Regions from separate parts of the Homo sapiens genome. Here region 2 is linked to region 1. Evidence: promoter capture Hi-C in human tissues and cell types (Jung and others, 2019). All regions are on one chromosome and are shown on one strand. Each heading gives the region's core, a stretch centred on a gene start or on the middle of the fragment in contact. The rest is flanking DNA. Distances are from core to core; before and after follow the strand shown. Region 1 holds the start of CPNE9 (copine family member 9). Region 2 holds the start of GHRL (ghrelin and obestatin prepropeptide).

The links. The method cuts DNA at HindIII sites, captures the fragments that hold promoters and counts their contacts. A contact is called where the count stands out against the background at its distance.
Region 2: a contact is called between the fragment with the promoter of GHRL here and the fragment with the promoter of CPNE9 in region 1, in 1 of the 25 tissues and cell types used here (liver).

The regions. Positions count from the first base shown.
Region 1 is chr3:9,700,905-9,705,948 of GRCh38, reverse strand. It overlaps CPNE9 (copine family member 9), which reads right to left and starts at 2,116. Exons shown (of 21, transcript NM_153635.3): 1 at 1,885-2,116; 2 at 1,322-1,362; 3 at 1,154-1,200; 4 at 955-1,058; 5 at 449-485; 6 at 229-231. The coding sequence starts at 1,952. MTMR14 (myotubularin related protein 14) reads right to left here. Exons shown (of 19, transcript NM_001077525.3): 19 at 3,556-4,159. The coding sequence ends at 3,976. RefSeq lists an enhancer at 1,567-2,477. The HindIII fragment of the contact is 25,532 bases long and covers 1-5,044 here.
Region 2 is chr3:10,290,393-10,295,370 of GRCh38, reverse strand. It overlaps GHRL (ghrelin and obestatin prepropeptide), which reads left to right and starts at 2,424. Exons shown (of 6, transcript NM_016362.5): 1 at 2,424-2,529; 2 at 3,920-4,655. GHRLOS (ghrelin opposite strand/antisense RNA) reads right to left here. Exons shown (of 6, transcript NR_073568.1): 6 at 1,922-3,303. RefSeq lists enhancers at 2,232-2,526, 2,337-2,586, 2,597-2,666, 4,178-4,780. The HindIII fragment of the contact is 19,242 bases long and covers 1-4,978 here.

The DNA of each region.
Region 1 (5,044 bases), core at 867-3,366:
GAGTGCTGAGTCCCAGCCTAGCCCCAGTGATGCTCCTGCACAGGACCAGGGCAGTTCCCAGGCGAATGAGTGGTGCAAGAGCCACGGCCCTACATGGGCTTTAATGGAGGGGGTGTGAAAGAAGGGGTCTGCGAGCAATCTCTGCCTTGTAGTGGGTCATCAGTCCAAGCCTGTTCTCCACAATACCACCCCCACCCCCAACCTCTGCCCAGCCCCATTCAGCCTCACCTTCTGCAGGTCCCAGCAGTGGCAGCCAAGAAGGAAGAGGAACAGTGAGTAGGGGGCACAGGCAGGACACTCAGGCAGGAGGAGAGGGACCAGGAGGGTGGGTTGGGGGCCTGAAGAAGATGGGGTCTGGGTCGAGGGTTGGGAGGAGTTCTGAGAGTCGTTGAACACATCTAAGTGCCTCCTGTGCGCTCCGCCAACCCTCGAGGAAACGTTTGCTCACCGGTTTGGAGATGTTGGTTTTGGAGTCCACGTTGTACCTGGGAAAAGAGTGGAACCGGTGTGGGGTGGGGCTGGGTGGGGGAGAGGGTGGAAAGGGGTCGGGCACCGAGTCTTGGTGAAAATTTTGGGTGGAGGGATGGGCGGCCGTGGACCCGAATTCAGCTTTGGTCTCCTTTTGGGGAGGAGTCAGGGTGGGCTGAGTAGTCAGACGGTCAAGCCTGGGCCGAGGCCAAGTCAGGGGCTGCTGGGGGCAGGGTTGTGTGGAAGGGGTCGGGCCTGAGGTGGAGCTGCGATAGGAGCAGAGTTGTGGGCGGGGCCAGAGCGGGGGACGGAACTGGACCGCATCTCATAAAAGGGCAGGGCTCAGGCTAGAGGGGGCCATTCAGAATGGGAGGGAGGCCTGCGAGAAGAACCAGGCCGGAGGCGAGGCGGGGGTGGGGCCAGCCAGAATTCCGGGCGGATCCAGGTCGGGGGCGGGCCAAGCCAGAATTCCAGGCGGGGCCTCACACATCGAAGCGCAGATTTTGCTTTTCCTCAAAGAAATAGTCGAGGACGAATTTGCGCACGAAGTCTGGGTTCAGCGTGTTATCAATCACCTCGGTCCGTCCGAACTGGGTAGGGGGGTGGAGGGTCAGCGTGGGACGTGCAGACGGGCAGGGGAATTCCCGGGCGACGCCCTGGGCCGGGAGGGGGCTCTGGGACTCACCTCCCGCCACTCCTGGCTGGCCCGGCTCTGCGTGTAAAGCACCACCACTGCAGGTGGGGGCGGGGAGGGAAGGACGTCAGGTCGGCTCCCACCCCTGGCCCCGACTCCACCCGCCCCTGAGTCGCGCCCAGACCCCAAGTTCCCCCTCCCGGTCCTGGAGCCGCCTACTGGGGTCGGACTTGGAGAAGGTATCAAGGTCTAGCAGGTTCCTAGAGAAAAGCAACAGACAGACAGAGTGGATCATCCTGGAGTCCGCCCGCCTCGAGTCGGCTCTGAGCCGGGCACTGAGGAGAGGCATGGGGCCCGCATCGAACCTCTGTCCCCCATGGCTACCCCCAGCCGGGGTCCGCTCTGTCAGCACTCTGGACAGCACCGGAAATCGCTGTCCAGGAACCATGGCTCTGCGGACTGGACGCGAACGCACCCACACTGTCTCCAAGGGCCCAGGAAAGAGGGCTCGCCCCAGAACTTTGTCCTCCTGGGGCCGAGCTCCTACCGGATATCTGCGACCCACCCCCTGAACCCGCAGGCTGAGCCCTTTTTTCGGGGTGGGGCTGCCCAAGACCCCCCGCTTCTCGATCCCACCAGCTACTCGCCCTGTCATCAGCTGTGATTTTCCAGCCAATTTCGCCTCTCCCCGGGGGTCTAGCCCCTGCCCAGGCTGAGCCCCGCGGCTGGCTGGGGCTGGGGCAGTGCCAGTGCCTAAGCCCTCCCCAGCGCGGCCCGCTCACCGGCAGGACACGGTAATTTCAATCTTGGTGGCCGGGACGCTGCGCTCGGAGGCTCCGCCGAGAGACATGGCTGGTCGGGCGACCAGAGCCGCAGGAGGCTGCGAGACCAGGGCTGCTGGGGCTAGGGGCGACGGCAGCGGCGGGGCCGGCCCATGTGCCGCGGTGTCGGCGGCGGCGGCGGCTGCACTCGCTCCAGCCCTGCGTGCGCTCCAGCCGCTCGCGCCCTGACAGTGGCCGCCGGCGGCAGCGGCTCCAGATGGCAGCACAGCCCCGCCCGGCCCTGCGGGCGGCCCCCGCCCCATTGGAGCAGCCTGGAGCCAGCGGGGAACCTCACCCCGACTCCCAACTCCAACCCACACCTTGGTAGAGTCTGCCCTGCGCAAGTCTCTGGGGTGGAAACCCAAGCCCCCTAGAGTTGTCCATGATGCTGAAACATTTGGGGCACCTGGTGGGCACTGGAATTGTTGCCTCTTACTGAGCCACTCCCTTAGTGTTTCTGTCTTTTCCCACTCCCAGCCTGCCTAGGTCTCTGAATAGGAAAAGTACATCTCTTAGTAGCTGTGTGACCTTGGACAAGTTACTCAACATCTCTGTGGCTCAACCGTGAAAGGCCGTCAGAAAGGCCTTTAACAGCAGCTACTTTAGGTGCTGTAAAATTTTACTGAGATAACCCAAGGAAAACACTTAGCACACAGCAAGTGCTCAGTAAACATTCACTGGTATTTATGATTTGTCCTCTGGGTATTCACAATGATGACAGTAAATGGTGGCTGTTGAGCACCGTGCAAAGCTGTCTGCCCATGCCTTTAACCCTCACGACTTTCATGGCGTTACAGATGCGGACACACTCTCATGACGCAATCTACTGTAGGTTACACTGTAGAAGAGGGTGGTGGTCAGCCAGGCTCTCACCCACCACACATGCACACCAATTGCTATCTCCAAAGCTTCAGAAGCCAGTCCTTCCTCCATAGGCAGGGCTCAAGGTAGGGGATGCAGGTCACCCGTACCAGGACCCTGCTGCCTACAGAACTTGTTAAAGATGAAGATCCTGGTCAGGTACGGTGGCTCATGCCTGTAATCCCAGCACTTTAGGAGGCCAAGGCAGGCAGATCACTTGAGCTCAGGAGTTTGAGACTGGCCTGGCCAACATGGTGAAACCCCATCTCTACTAAATACAAAAATTAGCTGGGGATGGTGGCACGTTCACGTAGCTACTCAGGAGACTGAGGCAGGAGGATCGCTTGAACCCAGGAGGCAGGGGTTGCAGTGAGCCAAGATTGTGCCATTGCACTCCAGCTTGGGTAACAGTGAGACTCCATCTCAAAAAATCTGAAAAAAATGAAGATCCTCCAGCTCCTAATTCCCAGGCAACTTCCTTAGCAACCCTAAGGCTAAAGCTCAGGCAGCCCTGGGAATGTGCACAGCTCATCAGGCTCTCTAGGTGACTAGGACCTGCTTAGGCCCGAGAACCACTACTCTCAACAGTCTTGAGTGTTGTCCCCACTGCAGGGACTACCATGGCTCATGAGTGGAGAGGTATACCTGTCGCCAGTTCTCTTCCTGTTTCACCTGCCCTCCACATAAAAACCCCTTGTCCAGCACAAGGAAGGACAATGAGAACCTTCCTAGTAGCTCCACAAAGACAATAACCAAATGATGACACAAGAGTGGCTATTCAAAAAGACTTTGATTTTATTTTGTGATCTGTGTCAAACTGCCTCATTCTCAGTGCAGGTGATCCCTCCTCCCCAGAAACAAGAACTGACAGGTAGGGTCTTTGTGAAGTCATGGCTTCCACAAGGCCCCAGGGAAACCCCACACAGTTCTGAGAGTTGATGGGAATCCCAGCAAAGATGGGGTGGGTGGGAGACAGTGACAAGAAGGGGTGGTGGTCACCAGTCAAGAGGCTGGGGGTTGGAAAACCCTGTCTTTGGCCTTGCTCAGCTTTGGGGCTGCCATGTTCATGATGGAGATGGGGGACTGAAATTTCCCCTGACCTGGAAGTACCCCTTCGGCCAGGCATGGCTTTGATTCTCTGCTAAGGGCTCAGCTGAGAGAGGAGCAGGAAAATGTCATGGGCTGGCTTCTTCACAAGGCATTGCTGCTGATGCTCCGGAGTCCAACACCACGGGCAAATTGCTCCAGCAGGCCCCCGATGGCACCGGAAGGACTGGGGGCTACTGCCCGAAGCCCCACTGTGCTGCTGTACGCAGCCAAGAAGGCTGAGCGCACCTCCTGCAGCCGAGTCTCTCGATCACTCAGGGCTGCAAGCCTATGGGGAGGTCAAGAGAAAGAACAAAGACATTACCCTGGGACAGGACCCAGTATCCTCATCCTCCCTCCCTCCATACCACCTGTCCTTGTGCTTCTTCTGACTGTACAAGGCCAGTGTCTGTCCTACGGCCATGCTATCCTTGTGGTTCAGGCCCCAAATATCTGGCCCTGTTTTCCCTTAAACCATTCCTCTAAGCCCTCAGGCTACTGTTCCCACCTAGAGCAGGAGCTTTTACTGGGACACTAACCTTTTTTTTTTTTTTCTTGAGACAAGGTCTCACTCTATTGCCCAGGCTGGAATGCAGTGACACAATCAGCGCTCACTGTAGCCTCAAGCCATCCTCCCACCTCAGCCCCTCAAGTAGCTGGGACTACAGGCACATGCCACCATGATAGGGTTTTACCATGTTGCCCAGGCTGGTCTCAAACTCCTGGACTCAACTGATCCGCCTGCCTTGGCGTCCCACAGTACTGGGATTACAGGCGTGAGCAACTGTGCCTGGCCTGACCTGACCTGTTGTGAAAATAACTATCTTTGCGATCACTGGGAAGGAGGGTAGCTAAGCAGGAGGGAATTTGCCCCAGCAGCTCTCTGCTTCCACTCCTCAGGAAGAGCAAGCTGAGGCATGAAGTCTTATACCTAACAGTAAGGAGGCCCCTGAAATCTGGCAGCACGCTGCAGCTGTTGAAAGTCCTCAGCCTTGGCTGTAATCCCAGCACTTTGGGAGGCCGAGGCAGGTCAGGAGTTCGAGACTAGCTTGGCCAACATGGCAAAACCCTGTCTCTACTGAAAATATAAAAATTCACTGGACATGGTGGCATATGCCTGTAATCCCAGCTACTTGGGAGGCTGAAGGCAGGAGAATCACTTGATCCCGGGAGG
Region 2 (4,978 bases), core at 1,175-3,674, 590 kb before region 1:
CGATAGTAAATACCTGAGTTCATAAGACTTTTTCTTAATTTCTTTAATCTGTCTAAAAACTTTGGCTATTTAACATGCATTGTGGGGCTCATACCTTAAGTAAAAATAAAATGTGTGACAATAATATCACAAAGAATAGAAGTGGGGAAATGAAAGCATTCTGTGGTGCAGTTCTTACACTATCTGTGAAAGGATATCGTAGTTGTTGAAGGTATTCTGCAATATGTTGAAGTCATATTTGTAAATCCTAGAGCAACCACTCAAAGAATAGAACAGTACAGTATAGCTAATAAGCCGACGGTGAAGACAAAATGATACCATTCAAAACCCTCTAAAAGTGGTTATGACAAGAGAAAGAAAAGGAAGAACAGATGGGACAATGGAAAAATTGGTGACTTACAAATAGTCTGGAGATTAACAGTAATGTGCTAACACTGGTGTTTTAATTTTGATAAATGTACTACGGTTATATAAGATATTCACGAGTGGAAACTGAATTGGGTTATTCAGAGAGAAAGATTTCATCTTCCATATGTTTATATTTTCTGCTGGAAGCAAGCATTTATAATCAAAATTTACCTGGGATACTTGGTAATTTATAATCAAAATTACCTGAGATACTTGAAACAGATTCTAAAGCCCCCACGCCAGAGCTACTGGATCAGAATCCAAGGATGGAGTCTTATAAACGTGCATAAAACTTATGAAGCTTTCCTCATGAATCCAACACAACCCAACACAGGTCTGTATCTGGAAATTGAGACGAGATGGCCCTCCAAGCCACGTCCCACCCTGAGGTCGTCCTATGGCTCTTAGCGGTCCATAGACTAAAAGGCTGGATGATCAGCAACGCTGAGACAACAGTTTCAGTACAGCAGTGGGGATGAGAGGCAAGGTCAAGTTTTGAGGGGCCAGGACACAGCAAAGAAGAGGACACAAGGAAAGGGGAAGGAAATGGAGATGGTAACACGAGGGGAGGGTGGGATCGGTGCACAACAGACGTTTTCAGGATTAGGAACCTGGGTGTATTTTAAGGCAGAAAGCAGAAGCCACTGGAGGGGAACAGAAGACACGAGAGAGGCAAAGTGTTAGAGCTTTGGCCCCAAGATGGCCGGAGGCTAGGGAAGCCCCAGTGAGAGAGGCAGAGCTTGGCGAAGAGGAGGGATGAGAGAGCATGGCTAAGGTCAGGGAGGATTTAAGAGCGATGGCCGCCTATCTAGAATGAGCCGCATGTGGCTGCTGAGCATTTGAAACATGGCTAGTCCAAATTGAAATGCACTGTAAGAACACACACTGGATTTCAAAGACTACACATCTGTAATCCCAGCACTTTGGGAGGCAAAGTCAGGCAGATCACTTAAGCCAGGAGTTCAAGACCAGCCTAGGCAACATGTCAAGACTCTGTCTCTACAAAAAATACAAAAATTAACTGGGTGTGGTGGTGTGACCTGTAGTCCCAGCTACTTGGGAGCCTGAGGTGGGAGGATCATCTTAGTCCAGGGAGGTGGAGGCTGCAGTGAGCCATGATAGTGCCACTGCACTCCAGCCTGGGTGACAGAGCAAGAACCTGTCTCAAAAAAATATATATGTATATTCATTTAGACATATGCTGTTGCACACTTAGACTATAGTATGGTATCAGCATACGTTTTATATTTACTGGGAAACCAACAAAATTCGTGTGACTTGCTTCATTGTGGTCTGGGACCAAAGCTGTAATGCCTCCAAGGTATGCCTGTATATTTCTATTGCAAAATGTGAATCTCGAAATTATAAAAGCTACAACTAGGACAAAAAGCAACCCCACCAAATAGCCCTATATCAAAGAATAAAATCTCTTTCTAGAACCCCAGAATTTGCCTCTTTCAGACTGAAGTTTAGCCAAATCTATGAAAAAAGAGCTTGCTAAACCAACTAATTATCAGTACAAATAAAATTATAATGAAAAGTCTATGAAGATAATTTGTTCTCAGATGCCCTTCACATATAGCAATTAATTCACAAATGATGAGTCACTCATGTGCCTTCATGAAGGCAGGCCCTCAAGAGACCCGCAACAGAAAGGAAAGCCACCGACTGGAGAGAACCTGCTTCCTGAGCCCCACCAAGTTCCAAAAAGGAGAATGGGGCTTCGTCCTCACCCTCAAGGAGTTGCCAAACTGGGCTTGGTTATTATTCACACTTGAAAAGAATGAGGAAGGTCAGCCAGTCCCCTCCAGGTCGCTCGGGCTTCCTCCAAGCTCCTCTTGGTTCAAATTTGCTGTGTCCTCCAGCCGGCATCTCTCCTCTGTTCCGTAACTGACAGGGCAGCGAGGTAGCTTCCGGATGACTCCTCCCGCCATGGTTCTTCCGTCCATCAGCTCTTCCTTCCTCAACTCTGTGGTATGTGGCTAGGGGAGTTTCCAACTCCCAGGGGACATTTCAGTTCCCCAAAGATAACACAGCTTTGCACAGTGGATGTTTACTTGCTGGTGGTCTTATCTAAGATCAACATTGGCAGCTGTGCCCGGAGAGGCCTCCAGGGTCCAGGTAAGTGGAGGCTTCATGTCTCAGGAGGTACCTGGTCACCACAGTTAGGATTTTTCTGTTTGGGGATTTTTTTTTTTATGGGTTGGTGGCTCTGAAAAAGCTGCAAGTCTTCTCTGAGGACTACAGACCTCTCTCCACCCTCTCCACATTCAGCCTCTCTGGGCTCCAGGGCCAAAAGATGTCTACACTCAGGTGGCAGACAGGCCTGTGAAGACCTCCTGGTGACATGCTCATATGTTGCTGGGACTAAAGGTGGGATTTTAGCCACCACAGTGGGTTGGTGGTGAGATGTTTACCAACAGGAGGTACTTTGTCCCTCATGTCCACTTAAAGATTCAGTCCAACCCGGCCTGTGCTTCTGCTGTCCCAAGAGACTCTAGAAAGCTCCAATCCTCCCTGAGGTTGATCTTTTAAGTCAGGGTAGGTGGTCATTCGGCAATCAACTGCTCTACTGCCTCAATGTCCTCCTCACTGGACGTCCTGCCCCAATTCCATCCTGTTCAGCGCAGACTGATTTTCCTGGAACACAATGTTCATTATGGAGCCAGATGGCATATCAGAAAGAGCACTGTATTAGGAGTCAAGAGATCCATGGGGGAATCCCAGCATTGCCCCTGATGGCTGTATAGCTTTGGGGAAAGTGAGGCCCTCTTGGCATTCAGTTTTTCTTCCAGCGAAATAAAGGATTCAGCCTCCCAGAGCTTTAAAGTCTTTCCAACTCTTTCATTCATTCTATGGTCTCTCTCTCCTCAAGAATCCTCAGTGGCTGCCCTCCTGCAAAAAAAGCCCAAACTTCTTGGGCTAGCAGTTCCCAAGGCATCCATCACCTGGCCCCAAACCACCTTCTTATGTTTTTGTTATGACCCCATCGCCACCCTCCCCCAAGCCACCCAGCCTTCTCCATGCTGCCCTGATGTACTCTACCCACGCCTTCACCTCCCCTCTGCTTGCCGCAAAGCCCTCCCTCCAAAGCCCTGCCCCGAGTTCACCACAGGCCTCTTTCCTGGAGCCTTTGCTAACATCCCTGCCGCAAGCCCCAGCCTAAGGTGAGCTCCTCTCCTGAACTGCTAGAACTTCTCTGCAGACAACTCATTGGCCCTTAGGGGTTCCTGCCTGGGCACCCAGTTGGATGAAGCACTCCAGAAAGGAAGAAATTCCTGGGGCCGAGGGAAATGAGGCAGTGGCCTTGGCCTATGCTGGGAAGTCCTATGGGCCTGGTATGAAACCATTGTCATCTGCAGGGTGTTTCACAGGTTAGAAGCCACTTTCCCCCCATCGCCTCATTTCACCCTCAAAGACTCTGGGTAAGGGGAATTATTTGTGGTCGGCGTAAGGCCAGTCAATGAGAGAGGAGCCAGGCCCGTGCTAAGCGTAGATCTTCCACCTCCAGGTCCAATGCACTTCCCTCTCAGAAGAGGCATCCGCTAAAATAGGGACCAAAGCTGCTGGAGGGAGGCAAGGCAAGCTGCTATGTGAAAAAACGCCAGGCCAGGCAGTCATGTCACACCTGGCAGAAATGACTGAAGCATAGCCACTGGCTGAAGTTATCCCCACACCCACTCTCTGGAGAGGATGATCAGGAGCAGTCTGCTCAACCGGGAGGTGGGACTCCTCCTCGGGAAGGTGTAGAATCACCAGCCTGGCTCCCTGCGGACTCCCGGGGCTCACAGAGGCCAGAGCAGCAACAGCACATGGGAAACAACGGGGCGCTGGACTGGGGAGGTCTCAGAGCTCTCCTAGTGATGACAGCCTCATTTTACCCAGGGAGAAAGGGCGAGTAAGCTAAGGTCACACAGCAACAAAGCTGCACCCAGACCCCAGAGCCACTCTCCTCCCTCCCTCCTCCACCAGGGCCATGCCCACTTGGGGCACCCCGCCACCGTGTTCCAGGGACAGCTGGAGCACATGCTTCTTCCCTCGCCAACCCAGCAATTCCGCAGGGCATCTGACCTCCACTGTTGACTTCTACCCAGAGGACAAGAACATTTTTAGTTCCCAAGGAATGTACATCAGCCCCACGGAAGCTAGGCCACCTCTGGGATGGGGTTGCTGGTTTAGAACAAACGCCAGTCATCCTATATAAGGACCTGACAGCCACCAGGCACCACCTCCGCCAGGAACTGCAGGTAAGCTCTCTCTACTCTCCGTGTGCGTTTGCTGACAGGTTTATTGTCCGTGACTGCTGCCCGTCCGTTTAACCTCTCTGGGCCTCAGGAGTCCCCTCTAAACACGGGGGATGTCGGACTGTCTGGCTGGAAGACAGAGCTTCATTTAGGAGCTACCTCTAACCCCCTCCCTGCTGAGTGCCCTGGGGCCCTTGCTGGTTCAGCTTCCTCCCTCCTCATGAAAAGACTCGCCATGAGCTCTCAGAGCCTGGGACAAAAGGCACCGGGGAGGACCCCCAGCCCCTATCAAGTCCTGCTGCCAGGTGTTCTGCCCTGAACGGCCT